5 separate regions of the Homo sapiens genome follow, and all the other regions are linked to region 1. Evidence: promoter capture Hi-C in 16 types of primary human blood cells and fetal thymus (Javierre and others, 2016). All regions are on one chromosome and are shown on one strand. Each heading gives the region's core, a stretch centred on a gene start or on the middle of the fragment in contact. The rest is flanking DNA. Distances are from core to core; before and after follow the strand shown. Region 1 holds the start of SPDYE4 (speedy/RINGO cell cycle regulator family member E4). Region 2 overlaps MYH10 (myosin heavy chain 10). Region 3 overlaps MYH10 (myosin heavy chain 10). Region 4 holds the start of PIK3R5 (phosphoinositide-3-kinase regulatory subunit 5). Region 5 overlaps MYH10 (myosin heavy chain 10).

Region 1 (2,525 bases), core at 13-2,512:
TCCTAACAATTGGACTTCCACAGCGACGGGATCTGCCTCCTCATTCAGTTGTGCCTTTCCCATCAGCGAGAGACTCCTAGGAGCCCATTAGGAAGCTGTGCCAGAACTCACAGGTTCTTTGGATGGTATCTGAGATAGTATCCAGCTCTTACATTTTTATTTTTTCCGAAAAAAATATTTTTGAGACTGAGTCTCACTCTGTCCTCCAGGCTGGTGTGCAGTGGTGCAATCATAGCTCACTGCAGCCTCAAACACTTGGGCTGAAGCAATCCTCCTGCCTCAGCCTCCCAAGTACTGGGACCACAGGTGTGTGCCACGATTCCTGATTACTTTGTTTATATTTTGTAGAGATGACGTTTTGCTATGTTGCCCAGACTAATCTTGAACTCCTAACCTCAAGTGACGCCCTGCCTTGGCCTCCCAAAGGAGGGAGATTATGAGCAGGAGCCCCTGGGCCTGGCTGAGATTTTCCCCTTAGTCTTTTTATACACAGGATATTTTATTCATAAAATACATAAATAGTAGGCAAATTTTGGGGTCAAGTGAAATAGATATGTTGTAATAGTTGATATATAGACCAGAGTTCCTTAGCTGAACTGGAGGGCAGGCTTTAGGTGATCCATGGATGCCCTGAACTTGTGGACACCATTGAAAATCTGTACGAAACCATGGACAGTCTCCTGTGATTTTCATTCCTCAAAATGTCTCTTGGACTCAAAGATGCCTGAGAGCAAAGGATGCATGTTCCCCTACTATAGGATCCAGGATAGTGAATATCAGTAAACATTCAGCAAAAAAGCTTTGCCACATTGAGTACTTCGACGTAACGTCTCCATTCAACAAGTCAATTTACCCAGGATCTCCTGTATATGTTAATCTCACTCTTGGAAGGACTCATCATTCTGCTTACCCTAAATTTCCTTCCACCTTCCTCCCTCTCTCACCAGACTAGACTCTGAAATGGGAAGGAGAAGCGGGGAGGAGAGCCCAACACCCCCTCAAGTTTAGAGTGGAGAGGACACAGCCTCTGCTGGGACAGGGAAAAGAGGAATGTGGAGACCCTGAGGATGCTTTTGGACAATGCTCAGAGGTTGGGACATTGCCAGGAGATACCGTTCACCCCGGATCTCCAAGAAAAGAGATCAGTCTGGCAGTTACATGTGTTTTTCTTCAAAGTAGTTGCCAGTTTGGAATGACCGATGACATCAGAGATTCCGACTTTCCTGATTGGAAGGACCGGACTCTGGTTGCTTGGGAGTTCAGGTGGACAACAGCAACTTCTCAGAACTACTCTTCACTCCTAACTTCTCCCGAGCCTCTAGAAGAGAAACGCACTCTTCTGGGTCCTAACGGAGTCTGGAAGAAGGCTTTGGACAGAACAGGGACTAGGTTTTGTGGACAGAAACAAAGTGTTTGGGAGAGATTATGGCCAGTGGTCAAGCGCGCCCCCCGTTTGAGGAGGAGAGCCCCCAGCCTAGCACAACGGTACGGTCCCCCGAGGTGGTGGTGGATGATGAAGTGCCAGGACCATCAGGTGAGGTGACTGGAGGGAGAAGCGATGGGAGATGATTGACTGAGGAGAGGGAAGGGGGCCAGTTACTGGGAATCTGAAGCACCTGAGTAGGGTGTGTGGGAAAGAAACGACGGACTCAGGAAGCCAGGGATCGGGGAAGGAGGGTGCAGGGAATGGGGCCAAGCATGGCCACGTGTAAAGAAAGTCTGGGGAGCAATGAAGGGGGTCAGGAGATGTGCTCAAAAGATGAGAGAGGAAGGCCGAGGCGGACGGATCACGAGGTCAGAAGATCGAGACCATCCTGGTTAACACGATGAAACCCTGTCTCTACCAAAAATACAAAAGTGAGTTGGGCATGGTGGTGCGTGCCTGTAGTCCCAGCTACTCAAGAGGCTGAGGCAGGAGAATCATTTGAACCCAGGAGGCGGAGGTTGCAGTGAACCAAGATTGTGCCACTGCACTCCGGTCTGGGCAACAAGAGGGAGACTCCATCTCAAAAAAAAAAAAAAGAGAGAGAGAGAGAGAGAGCAGACAGAGCTCAAGGGAAGGTTTCCATTTTTCTCCAATTGAAAGTTCTTATCTGTGATGAGGAAATGTTTTGAGGACAGAGAGCCGGAAGAATGGGGAGGTGAGGGAGAGGCAGATGGGGATCAGCAAAGGAGAAAGGTGGAAACATGGCTTGGAGAAGCTGACAGTCTGCGAGGCTTGGGAGGATGGAAGAGTAGTTTGAGGTTCCTGGGTCGGGGCGTCTAAGGTGATCAATGGCAGAAACATGACACCATGGCCTGGTTTCTTCACTCAGCCCCTTGGATAGATCCCAGCCCCCAGCCTCAATCCCTTGGCCTGAAAAGGAAGAGCGAATGGTCAGACGAATCCGAGGAGGAGCTGGAGGAGGAGCTGGAGTTGGAGCGCGCCCCTGAGCCCGAGGACACCTGGGTGGTGGAGACGCTGTGTGGGCTCAAGATGAAGCTGAAGCGAAAGCGAGCATCCTCCGTGCTCCCTGAGCACCACG
Region 2 (2,525 bases), core at 9-2,508, 240 kb after region 1:
TGTGTATGTGTATGTATTTTTTCCAATGTATGTGTATACATGTGCACACACATGCGTGCAATTACAGTCTTTTAGCTAACATAGGGAAAGGAGTAGATAGAAAAGGATTAAGAAAAAACAAAAGGGAAAAGATCTATCAACTTGCAGTGGAAATGGATACAAACATATGTTGAGAGTTATTTTTAACTTTTATTTGGTAATTTTCTTGAATAGTTACTTTTAGTTTGCTTTTTTTCTTCTTTTTTCTGGAAATCAGATTTGAAAGTATGACACCATTTGCTGTTCCATGAAATAAATGGTGCTGCCAGGTCAAAGAATGGTCTTTGTGCCCTTTCTCCCACTGTTCCAGATAGAATCACCTTGAGAAGCTTTTCCAGTCCATGTGTGTCTTGAGGAAAGCCATCATTCTGATCCCATTGTATGATGAAGTCTGGTAGATTTTCATTTTTTATTGTTAGGAGAAAAAGGGAGTATAATTGGCATCCAAGATACAAAGTTGATTGATGTAGCCAGGATTCCTCCTTTAATATATAGCCAGTATCTTTTATTTTTCTGATTGAGGTATAGACTGTATACAGTGAGGTACACAGATTTTAAATGTGCAGCTCAGTGAACATATGTATGTGTATACACCCAGACCAACGTCATGTCACATGTCACCCTGATATTTTCTGATGTTTTGAATAGAAGCCTATGAACACAGCTCTTACAGCCCTTCCTGTTATCTAATAAATGCTACAAATTGACAGTGACTTAAAGTACAGAAAGCCAGATTCTCTTTTGCGTCTTAAGGATATGAACATTTTATGGGACATGAAGAAAAATGAAAGGTTTCTAAAACACCATGCTTTTGATTTTTCTCTGCCACAACCTCCTAAACCTACTTTTTGACCTGAAAGAACTAACCTCATTTTTACTTATGAGAAATAAAGTAGATCTACAGAAAACATCAGATTATCACCAGTTCATTTCTTGAACATGTATTACATCATATCTTTAACATGTATTACCCAACATTTTATTGCCTCTTAGAGCAAAACACACAGTTAGTAGATACACATCGTTCACAAATTTCTACAAAATACTTCTTGGAATATTCTCTTACAGATATGAGATCCTAACTCCAAATGCTATTCCTAAAGGTTTTATGGATGGTAAACAGGCCTGTGAACGAATGGTAAGGTTTTCTTGATCTTTTTCTGGCTTGTAGATTTAATCTAATCTTTCTTGTAGTTAAAAAAAGTAAATAAACTCTTTCTCTCTTAGATCCGGGCTTTAGAATTGGACCCAAACTTGTACAGAATTGGACAGAGCAAGATATTTTTCAGAGCTGGAGTTCTGGCACACTTAGAGGAAGAAAGAGATTTAAAAATCACCGATATCATTATCTTCTTCCAGGCCGTTTGCAGAGGTTACCTGGCCAGAAAGTGAGTGGGTATTCACGAATTAATCGTTCACTGAGGAAGTGCTTGTGCTAGATAAGCATTGCATTTTGACCTGGGGTGCAAGAGTGTGTGAGACATAGTCTGTCCTTACAGAAGTTGCTTTATAGTGGCAGAGATAGTCAGGTAAATACATGAACATTCTAAGTAATGGGATGTTGCAATACAAAAACACACAAGGAGGCTGGGCGTGGTGGCTCAGGCCTGTAATCCCAGCACTTTGGGAGGCTGAAGTGGGCAGATCACTTGAGCTCAGGAGTTCGAGACCAGCCAGGGCTTCATGGCAAAACCCCATCTCTACTAAAAATACAAAAATTAGCCAGGCTTGGTAGCATGCGCCTGTAGTCCCAGCTACCTGTGGGAGCTGAGGCGGGAGGATCTCTTGAACCCAGGAGGTCAAGGCTGCAATAAGCCAAGATGGTACCACTGCATGCCAGCCTGGGTGACAAAGTGAGACCCTATCTCAAACACACACACACACACACACACACACACACACACACACACACACGGGGCCAAGGGGTATGGGGTCCTGCCTCAGCTCAAGTCCTCAGAGAATGCTTCTCACACACACACACACACACACACACGGGGCCAAGGGGTATGGGGTCCTGCTTCAGCTCAAGTCCTCAGAGAATGCTTCTCTGAGGCTGAAACCTCAAGGGTAAGAAGGCTGGCCCTGTGAAGGGAGGAGAGAGAAGCTTTTCAGTAAGGGAACTACAGCAGCATCCTGGCAAGAGTCTGGCAGCATTTGAGAAGGTGACACAGTCCAGTGTGGCTGGAGCAGGATGGGTGAGAGGGAGCAAGGTGAGAGAAGAGGCTTGAGAATCAGACGCTGGACAGGGGTTAGGAGTGCAGTGAGGGGGAATCTATACTGTCAAGGCCGCCTGGCTGCGGTAGGCAGAATCCATTGAGAATTGGCCAAGAATAGAATTGGGAGGGCCAGTTGGGAAGCTGTCTTAGTGATTTGGGTAGAAGATGATGGTGCCTGGACCCAAGAAGGTGGTGGTGGAGAACGAGAGAAAAGTTGTTAAATTTGAGATAGAATTCAAAGGACTTAGAACTGATTTGGATTTAGAAGGT
Region 3 (2,525 bases), core at 15-2,514, 220 kb after region 1:
CATTGAAACCACAGCAGCCAGGGCATTCAGAAAGTATTGGAGCTGGGAAGTCATGATGTTCCTAGTCACCAGTTATGCCCAGACACTGACGGGCAATGAGTAGAACTAGGTAACTCGTTCCTTCTTTCCTTCCTATCCTCTTTGTACTGGCACTTCTAGGCTCTTCCTTCAGCCTTTAGAGTGGACCCTTTATTCCCTGCCTAAATAGTCCTAATTTATAGGAGAGATAGCTCAGAAAGGGGAGGGAAGGAATTCAAGATTTAATGCTGACTCACTCTTTACCTCAATTTGAGGATTATTCTACTTATTCATAGAAATATCTGATTAAAAAATAAAAACATGGCCAGGCACAGTGGCTCACGCCTGTAATCCCAACACTTTGGGAGGCCAAGGCGGGCAGATCACTTGAGGTCAGGAGTTCGAGACCAGCCTGACCAACATGGTGAAACTCCATCTCTACTAAAAATACAAAAAGAAATTAGCCAGGCGTCGTGGCGGTTGTCTGTAATCCCAGCTACTCGGGAGGCTGAAGCAGGAGGATCGCTTGAAGCCGGGAGGTGGAGGTTGCAGCGAGCCAAGATCGCGTGACCACACTCCAGCCTGGGGGACAAGAGCGAGACTCCGTCTCAAAAAATAATAATAATAAAAAATAAAAACATAACATTTTGTAAACCCCATGAGAGTTTATGATGATGGGGAATTTAACGACAGCCTGTGGAATGACATGGGATAATGATCCCATTGATGTTCCTTGCAAAATGGAGAGTGAAAACAATACTTTCTAGAAGGAAAATGCTGTAAAAACATCCTCTGTGGTGGCACCTGACAGGCCCGTGCCAGGCTTAGCTCATCTCGCATAATCCCAGCCCCTGCCTTGCCAGACTGTGGGCTGGTGGCAGGCAAGCCTCTGAGTTCACAAGCTTTCACAAAACCTATGACCAATATTCAGAAACACAGGCTTCTAAGCTTACAGCTCTTGGAAATACCCGGTTCAGAGAAGGAATGATAATAGAGATCTTGACATTGAAGGATGAAGTGGAAAAAATGAAAAGGAGACACAGTAATGATATTCATGATCATGCTGTCACCAAGTCATTTAGAAAAAAATACAAATTTTTATTTGAGATACTGTGTCAGAATTTAGGAAAATTCTCATTAAAAGTGGTTAAGAATGTAAAAGGGTAAAAGGAGGATGTTTTTGTTATATTAATATTAATGTGGAACTTCCTTTCTCACAGTTGTTGTGTGATTAGGGTGGATTGAGTTACCTGCCACTCTGAGCTCCTCTAAAGTGACCTAATCCCAGTTGCTTCAGATTACTGTCTTCTTTTTAGCTGATCTGAAACCCTGACAATTCTTTCAGGTGGAGGAGCCCTGGGGTAAGGGTCTCCATTGCAGAAGGGTTCCCTCAGCTTCCACCCGCTGGCATTCAGATCACCCATCCCTTTCTCTGACCACTTTATTACACTGTTTCATTTATATTTAACCATAGCCTCTAGCTACTTTTAAAAACAGCATTTGTGTGTATTGCCAACTCTTTGCCAGTAAATATGAAAGCTTTGTGAGTTGATGAGAACTGATCTTAGAGTCTTACTCAAACAGCTGATTTCATGAGTGTGCCCTAGAACTGGTACGAGTTCAGTTTTGTATCACACACTTGCCATATTTGCAGTGTGACAATAAATGATGGCCCAGAAGCACTAGAAAATAGACCATCACTATTTAAATATCTTATTTAGCTTTCATGTGTCATTTACCTCCAAAAAGGAAGTCACTCCAGACAATGGTGAGCTCTAGGCCTTTTTAAAAATTGAGACATAATTCACAAACCATGAAATCCACCCTTTTAAAACTACAAGTCAGTGATGTTTGTAGTATATTCACAAAGTTGTGGAACCATTACCACTACCAAATCCTGCCACGTTTTCATCACCCCAGAAAGAAACCTCATACCCATTAGTGGTCACTCCACATTCTGTTCCTTCAATCCCCGGCTGCCACTAATCTACCCTCTGTCTCTATGGATTCATCTAGCGCTTTTTTTTTTTTTTTGAGACAGAGTCTTGCTCTGTTACCCAGGCTGGAGTGCAATGGCACCATCTCGGCTCACTGCAACCTCTGCCTCCCAGGTTCAACCGATTCTCCTGCCTCAGCCTCCTGAGTAGCTGGGACTACAGGCATGTGCCACCACACCCAGCTAATTTTTGTATTTTTAGTAGAGGCGGGGTTTCACCATCTTGGCCAGGCTGGTCTCAAACCCCTGACCTCGTGATCCACCTGCCTCGGCCTCCCAAAGTGCTACTTTTTTTCAATGAAGTAATAATTGCATCACATAAAATGGGTTGTCAAATGCCTGTTAAAACAAATATATAAGGCAATTGATGACTGACTTAGTTTATCAATTTCCATATATTCTACTTAATAATAGTTTAAAATATTTCGCCAAATATAAAGTGATACATTTAATTTAAAATTACTTAAACAGAAACTTAAACTGATTAGGATATAAAATGTTTGAAGCATTC
Region 4 (2,525 bases), core at 12-2,511, 210 kb before region 1:
GGAAGTGGAGATTTCAGCGTTGCCCTTTGTTAACCCACAAATGAAGTGCTACTCTTCCATTGTGAGGGCTGTCGGAGCAGTAGCCAACCTTCTTATCCCCATTTTTTAAACGAGGGAAAGGAGGCATAGGAAGCGCAGTGTCTTGTGGGATTCCCTGGGGAGTCCTTCCAACTCTTGGTAGAGCATCATCTGCAACGTCGTCTGGGGGAGAAAAGGGGGAGGCAAGAAGAGGGCCTTGACCCTGGAGGCAGGAACTCCCGCACACCCTCACTCCCTTCCCCAGGGGCTGGGGAAACCACTCAGGTGACAGTAGCCTTGGTGCCGGCCAGGGAGGGCGGGAAGTCCAGCCAGAGGCTGGAACAGCAGTGCTGAACGCCGGGACTGGCTGGTATTTCTATGAAGGTTCCTGCAGAAGGATGCGGGTCAAGGTGCCCGTCTGCACAGCAGTAGTGCAGGCATTTTAAGGGTTAAGGGCACCCAAAGAAAATAGAAGTAGGGGCCGGGCGCAGTGGCTCACGCCTGTAATCCCAGCACTTTGGGAAGCCGAGGCGGGCGGATCACGAGGTCAAGAGATCGAGACCATCCTGGCCAACATGGTGAAACCCCGTCTCTAGTAAAAATACAAAAAATTGGGCGTGGTGGCGCGCGCCTGTAGTCCCAGCTACCCGGGAGGCTGAGGCAGGAGAATCGCTTGAACCCGGGAGGCGGAGGTTGTGGGGAGTCAAGATCGTGCCACTGCACTCCAGCCTGGCGACAGAGCGAGACTCCATCTCAAAAAAAAAAAAAAAAAAAAGAAAGAAAATAGAAGTAGGAAGAGGAAGTGGGTCGCAGTGAGAGAAGGAAGCAGCTCGTCGGAGCTTCCTCTTTCTCGTCTTTCCCCTAAGCCCCTACCCCAGACCTGCCCCCCTGCTCCGCCCAGCCCTCCTGCGGGGCCAAAGCCGCGCTTCCGACGCGGGGGCCTAACCTCCCCTTACTCCTTGGGGGTCGCTGGTGCTCCGCGCTGGTGCCCCTCGGGCCACTGCCATGGACCGGCCAGGGTCTGCTTCTTCCGAGGGCTGGCGGGTCAGAGCCGGGGCTGCTTCTCAGACGCCTTGCGGCCTCGGGGGCGTGACCCAGAGGATGTGGGGCCGGGCGCGCACCTGGCTGACGCTGCCGGGCCGCCAGGTGGCTGGAGAGGCCGGCTCCGCGGTCAGCCCCGCCCCATTAGGCCCCGCCCCCTGACAGGCTCCGCCCCGCCCGCCGGAGGAGCCCAGGCTGGGCAGATGCTGCGGCTCGCCGCGCGGCTCCAGCTGGGGCGCGGTGGTCCCGACGGTCACCCGAATCGCAGGGAGTCGCCGCTGGAGAGGGGCTCGGCGCCCGGCGGGGACTGCAGGTGTGTGACTGGGCGGCCAGGGCGGATGCGGAGGGCACGCATGGGAGCTCCAGGCAGAGCTGGAGCAAGCTGGGGACCGTCGGGGAGAGTGGGCTCCGCGAGCAGCCGCCGCAGCCCGAGGGCTGGACAGATCCTGCTATCTTCCGGCCCCGTGGACCTGGCCCACCGCGGGGGCAGCGGGTCTGCAAACCTGCGCTCCAGATAACCCCAGAGACTTAAGGGGCGTCGCGGGGACCACTTATCGTTATCCGGGTAACCTCTGCTGGGCGGCTCTGCGCAGCTGTGTCCTCAGCCTCCTGCCTCTGACACAGGACGCCCTGTGTCGTAGGGTCAGGTCCCCTGCCCGCTCCAGCGGGGAACTGTCCGTGAGCGTGGGCATCAGGGCTCTTGTGCCGTCAGAACCTGGGAGTCATGGAAGTGCCCGCGTAAGGCGCCCTCCGTCGAGCCTCACTCAGCCTGCTAGTTAGCCAGCCTTGGGCCCAGACGCGGCTGCTGTCCTAGAGAACTGCACGCTTTCTGCTCTCAGAGGATCTGTGTTTACACACTGGACATCCCCGCGTGACTCGTGTGTGTGTGTGTGTGTGTGTGTGTGTGGGCATGCGCATGTGCGCGTGCTGGCCCATCCCGGCCTGGGGTAAATACACAAAAAGTTCAGGTCAGTAGGAGGAAGGAGATTGTTCAGAAGGAAAAGGAAGGCGAGGTTAAAGCAGCAGGATGTGGTATAAAGCGAGTTAACAAGACTCGGAGTAGAGAGGAGGGGTGGGTTTAGGCAGAATAAGGGCTAAAAGTAGGCCAAGCCTGCCTCCAAGGTCCTCTCTGGACTGACACCCTCGTTTTCCTTCTGTGTCTTCTCATCCACCCCACACTTTCCTTCCTGCCCTCAGGACCACCTGTAAGGCACTGGCTCCCAGAGCTGACTGCAGGTAGGGCTCTCTTGGAGCCAACCCTACAACGTGGCTTTCCAGGGATGGGATCTGGAATCTGTAGTTTTCAAAACTTTGAATGAGCTCCTTAAGTGATGATGCTGAAGCCGTTGCTTGGGAACCATGCATGATGTGGAAAAGAGACCCAAGTTCCAACCGGATCCAGCTGTGTGACCTGCAGCATCACACTGTCCCCCAACCCAGCCTCAGTCTCCTGATTCATAAAATGG
Region 5 (2,525 bases), core at 14-2,513, 160 kb after region 1:
GCAACACTGTGTGTTAGGAACTGAATTTAGGAACACCGAGGCCTCTACCTTGCACATAATCATCTGAGGTCACCTAGGAGTACCCACAGTGAGGCTCACCACCTTGTGGCTTGTCTTCCTTTGTTCCTGATGCCTCACCAGCCCAGTTCCACCCCAGGTAGCTTCCATTCAGCAGCAGGCAACCAACACTGCTACCAACCCCGGTTGACCTGGGTAGATGGAAAGGAAAGTTTTGCTTGCTGTAACAATACCTGCAGGGGCCACTTTTTTAGGCCACAATGAAAATTTAAGACATGAGAGTCCACCATCTTCATGGAATCCTGGAATGAAATTCACTGTGTTTCCAGTCATGTTTTCATTTCCATAATACTCCCTTTTCATTTTTGCCTTAGGTAACTCCCACTCTCTGATGTGCAAACTTTCTGTATGTTTAGTATCTTCAGTGAATATTTTCTTTTCCTTCAAGCTTTAACCGAGACTTGGCTTTCCCCCACATACGGGGTATGAGTCCATTTAGTGAAGAGTGCTCCATCACTCAAATCCTATGCACTGGGAGATAGGGTTAGTGTCCTTACTAACACTGTGTCTATGTGTCTGCTAAACCATTACTCCTTTACTGCCTTGGAAAAGCCGCACCTCCATCACCACTCATTACTTTCAGCAGCTTTCTTCTTGGTTCCTCTCTCACTCCATGATGGGCCCCAGCACGTTGTTTCCTCTCTGCCTCAAGCCTTGCCATTGCCCTGTGTTACTTCATAGTTTTTAATGAACAGTCAAGTCCCTTGATCGTAAGGTCCTTCATATGAATTCCTCCGTCTCTCACTTATGCCACCAACATCTATGGTGATGCTCTAGACTTTGCCATCTTTTAGAATTAACTGACTTTTCAGATAATGTTTCAGTAGTTCTAATGCAGCATCCTTCCATATTGGTAGTCCAATCAAGAAGATTGGACTTCTTAGGAGAAGAGAGTCCAATCTCCTAAATGTGTTCTTTGACTTCATGTGGATCCCCAGCCCATTACTTGTTTTACTTTCCCCCTATATGTTAACAACACCCTTCACTTTCTGCCTTGTATAATTTAGATTTCATGGCCATCTTCTACCCATTTCCTAAACCCCTCCCTTGTCCCGTTGTTCATTGGTTATTCTTGTTTGGTAAAACTCACGCTGGATGAATCAAGATATTTGTCTCTTTTAATGCTGTTACTTGGGTTGCTGATGCTTCTGGAGTTATGCTCACATAATGGAACAGATAAATACCACTGTAATTTCCTGACCGTGAGCCCTGATTCTACACTCAACTCTTGCTAATCCTACCTTGGTCCTCCCACTCTCCATAATGACTATTTCAAACCTCTGCAGGCTCCAGATCTCTGGGTCCCTCCTTGCCCCTCTACTCCCTGGCTGATGGCTTGTTTCCCATTCCACAGAGGCACTGCAGAGAAACTGCCCCAGCTAGATGAACAGATCATTATCTCTTGTGTCTACTCCTGTCAAAGGCTGGTCTTACCTAGTCCTTCACCTCTGATGCTGATCACATCCTCTTAACCTTCTTAAGAATCTCATGGTGTTGATTATTCTGGGTTGTGACTGTATCTTCTGCTTCTCTTTTTATAGGCTCCTAACATTAGCAATAAATTTTCCCTATTAGCTAAAGTTTTACCCGTTACTTTAAATAAGAAAGTTAGTTCCTTCCACCTTCCTTTTACAGCCAGATTTTTCAAAACAGTGTTGCAGATGGGTAGGCAGATATGGTTGCTGGCAGGAGCTTGTGAAAATGAAGCAGGGTTTCAGCTGAGAGTGAGGAGGAGGGAGGAGAGATTGGTGGTTTAAGATAGAAATAGTGTGATGTAGTCATCTAGGAGAGACAGATAATACTTACATGTACATCACTGACATTGCATCAAATATTTAAAACAGTTGCTATTGGAAATGTAAGGAGAATGTGAACCACAGTTATAGAGGGAGTTTTAATATGCTTCTCTCAGAATTTGACATATTAAGTAGGGAAAAAAAGAATATTAAAGAATGTGATTTAATACAACTTAGCAAGCTTATATTGAAAAATGTATGTATGCAAGCAGAAAGCACATTTACAAATGTGGTGTCTATTCCATATAGCAGGCCACCAATAAAAATCTCAGTTCCTGAAAGAAGAAATCACAGGCTACATTCTCTGACCACAGTGCAATAAGACAAGATATTAGCAATAAAAAGATTTCCAAATGGGTTAGTGTTTGTGGGAGTGTGTTTAATGAGTATGAATGTTTTGTTATTAATCACTCATCTATGTGGCTTTTGGTAAAAGAGGAAATCAAAACTTACAGATTCTTTAGAAATCACTACAACAGGCTGGGCACCATGGCTCACGCCTGTAATCTCAGGACTTTGGGAGGCCAAGGTGGGCAGATCACTTGAGCTCAGGAGTTCAAGACCAGCCTGGGCAACATGGTGAACCCCCAGCTCTACGAAAAATAAAAAAATTAGCCAGATGTGGTGGCATGCTTCTATAGTCCTAGCTAC

The links. The method cuts DNA at HindIII sites, captures the fragments that hold promoters and counts their contacts. A CHiCAGO score of 5 or more calls a contact.
Region 2: a contact is called between a fragment that was not itself captured here and the fragment with the promoter of SPDYE4 in region 1, in 1 of 17 cell types (megakaryocytes). The highest score is 5.1, in megakaryocytes.
Region 3: a contact is called between a fragment that was not itself captured here and the fragment with the promoter of SPDYE4 in region 1, in 3 of 17 cell types (megakaryocytes, erythroblasts and endothelial precursors). The highest score is 14.8, in megakaryocytes.
Region 4: the fragment with the promoter of PIK3R5 here is called in contact with the fragment with the promoter of SPDYE4 in region 1 in 14 of 17 cell types (naive CD8 T cells, naive B cells, total CD4 T cells and 11 more); the score reaches 14.4 in naive CD8 T cells.
Region 5: a fragment that was not itself captured here is called in contact with the fragment with the promoter of SPDYE4 in region 1 in 1 of 17 cell types (megakaryocytes); the score reaches 7.1 in megakaryocytes.

Annotation. Positions count from the first base shown.
Region 1 is chr17:8,757,283-8,759,807 of GRCh38, reverse strand. It overlaps SPDYE4 (speedy/RINGO cell cycle regulator family member E4), which reads left to right and starts at 1,262. Exons shown (of 7, transcript NM_001394956.1): 1 at 1,262-1,534; 2 at 2,316-2,525. The coding sequence starts at 1,426. The HindIII fragment of the contact is 1,936 bases long and covers 802-2,525 here.
Region 2 is chr17:8,517,533-8,520,057 of GRCh38, reverse strand. MYH10 (myosin heavy chain 10) reads left to right here. Exons shown (of 43, transcript NM_001256012.3): 20 at 1,108-1,177; 21 at 1,267-1,427. Among named protein-coding and RNA genes, the nearest start is that of NDEL1, 83 kb to the right of the region's middle. The HindIII fragment of the contact is 1,775 bases long and covers 371-2,145 here.
Region 3 is chr17:8,536,326-8,538,850 of GRCh38, reverse strand. The region is part of intron 14 of MYH10 (myosin heavy chain 10); the gene reads left to right. Among named protein-coding and RNA genes, the nearest start is that of MYH10, 93 kb to the left of the region's middle. The HindIII fragment of the contact is 591 bases long and covers 969-1,559 here.
Region 4 is chr17:8,964,443-8,966,967 of GRCh38, reverse strand. It overlaps PIK3R5 (phosphoinositide-3-kinase regulatory subunit 5), which reads left to right and starts at 1,261. Exons shown (of 19, transcript NM_001142633.3): 1 at 1,261-1,372. PIK3R5-DT (PIK3R5 divergent transcript) reads right to left here and starts at 1,121. Exons shown (of 3, transcript NR_184080.1): 1 at 965-1,121; 2 at 1-201. RefSeq lists silencers at 848-947, 1,018-1,337. The HindIII fragment of the contact is 6,543 bases long and covers 1-2,525 here.
Region 5 is chr17:8,598,834-8,601,358 of GRCh38, reverse strand. The region is part of intron 3 of MYH10 (myosin heavy chain 10); the gene reads left to right. Among named protein-coding and RNA genes, the nearest start is that of MYH10, 31 kb to the left of the region's middle. The HindIII fragment of the contact is 1,589 bases long and covers 469-2,057 here.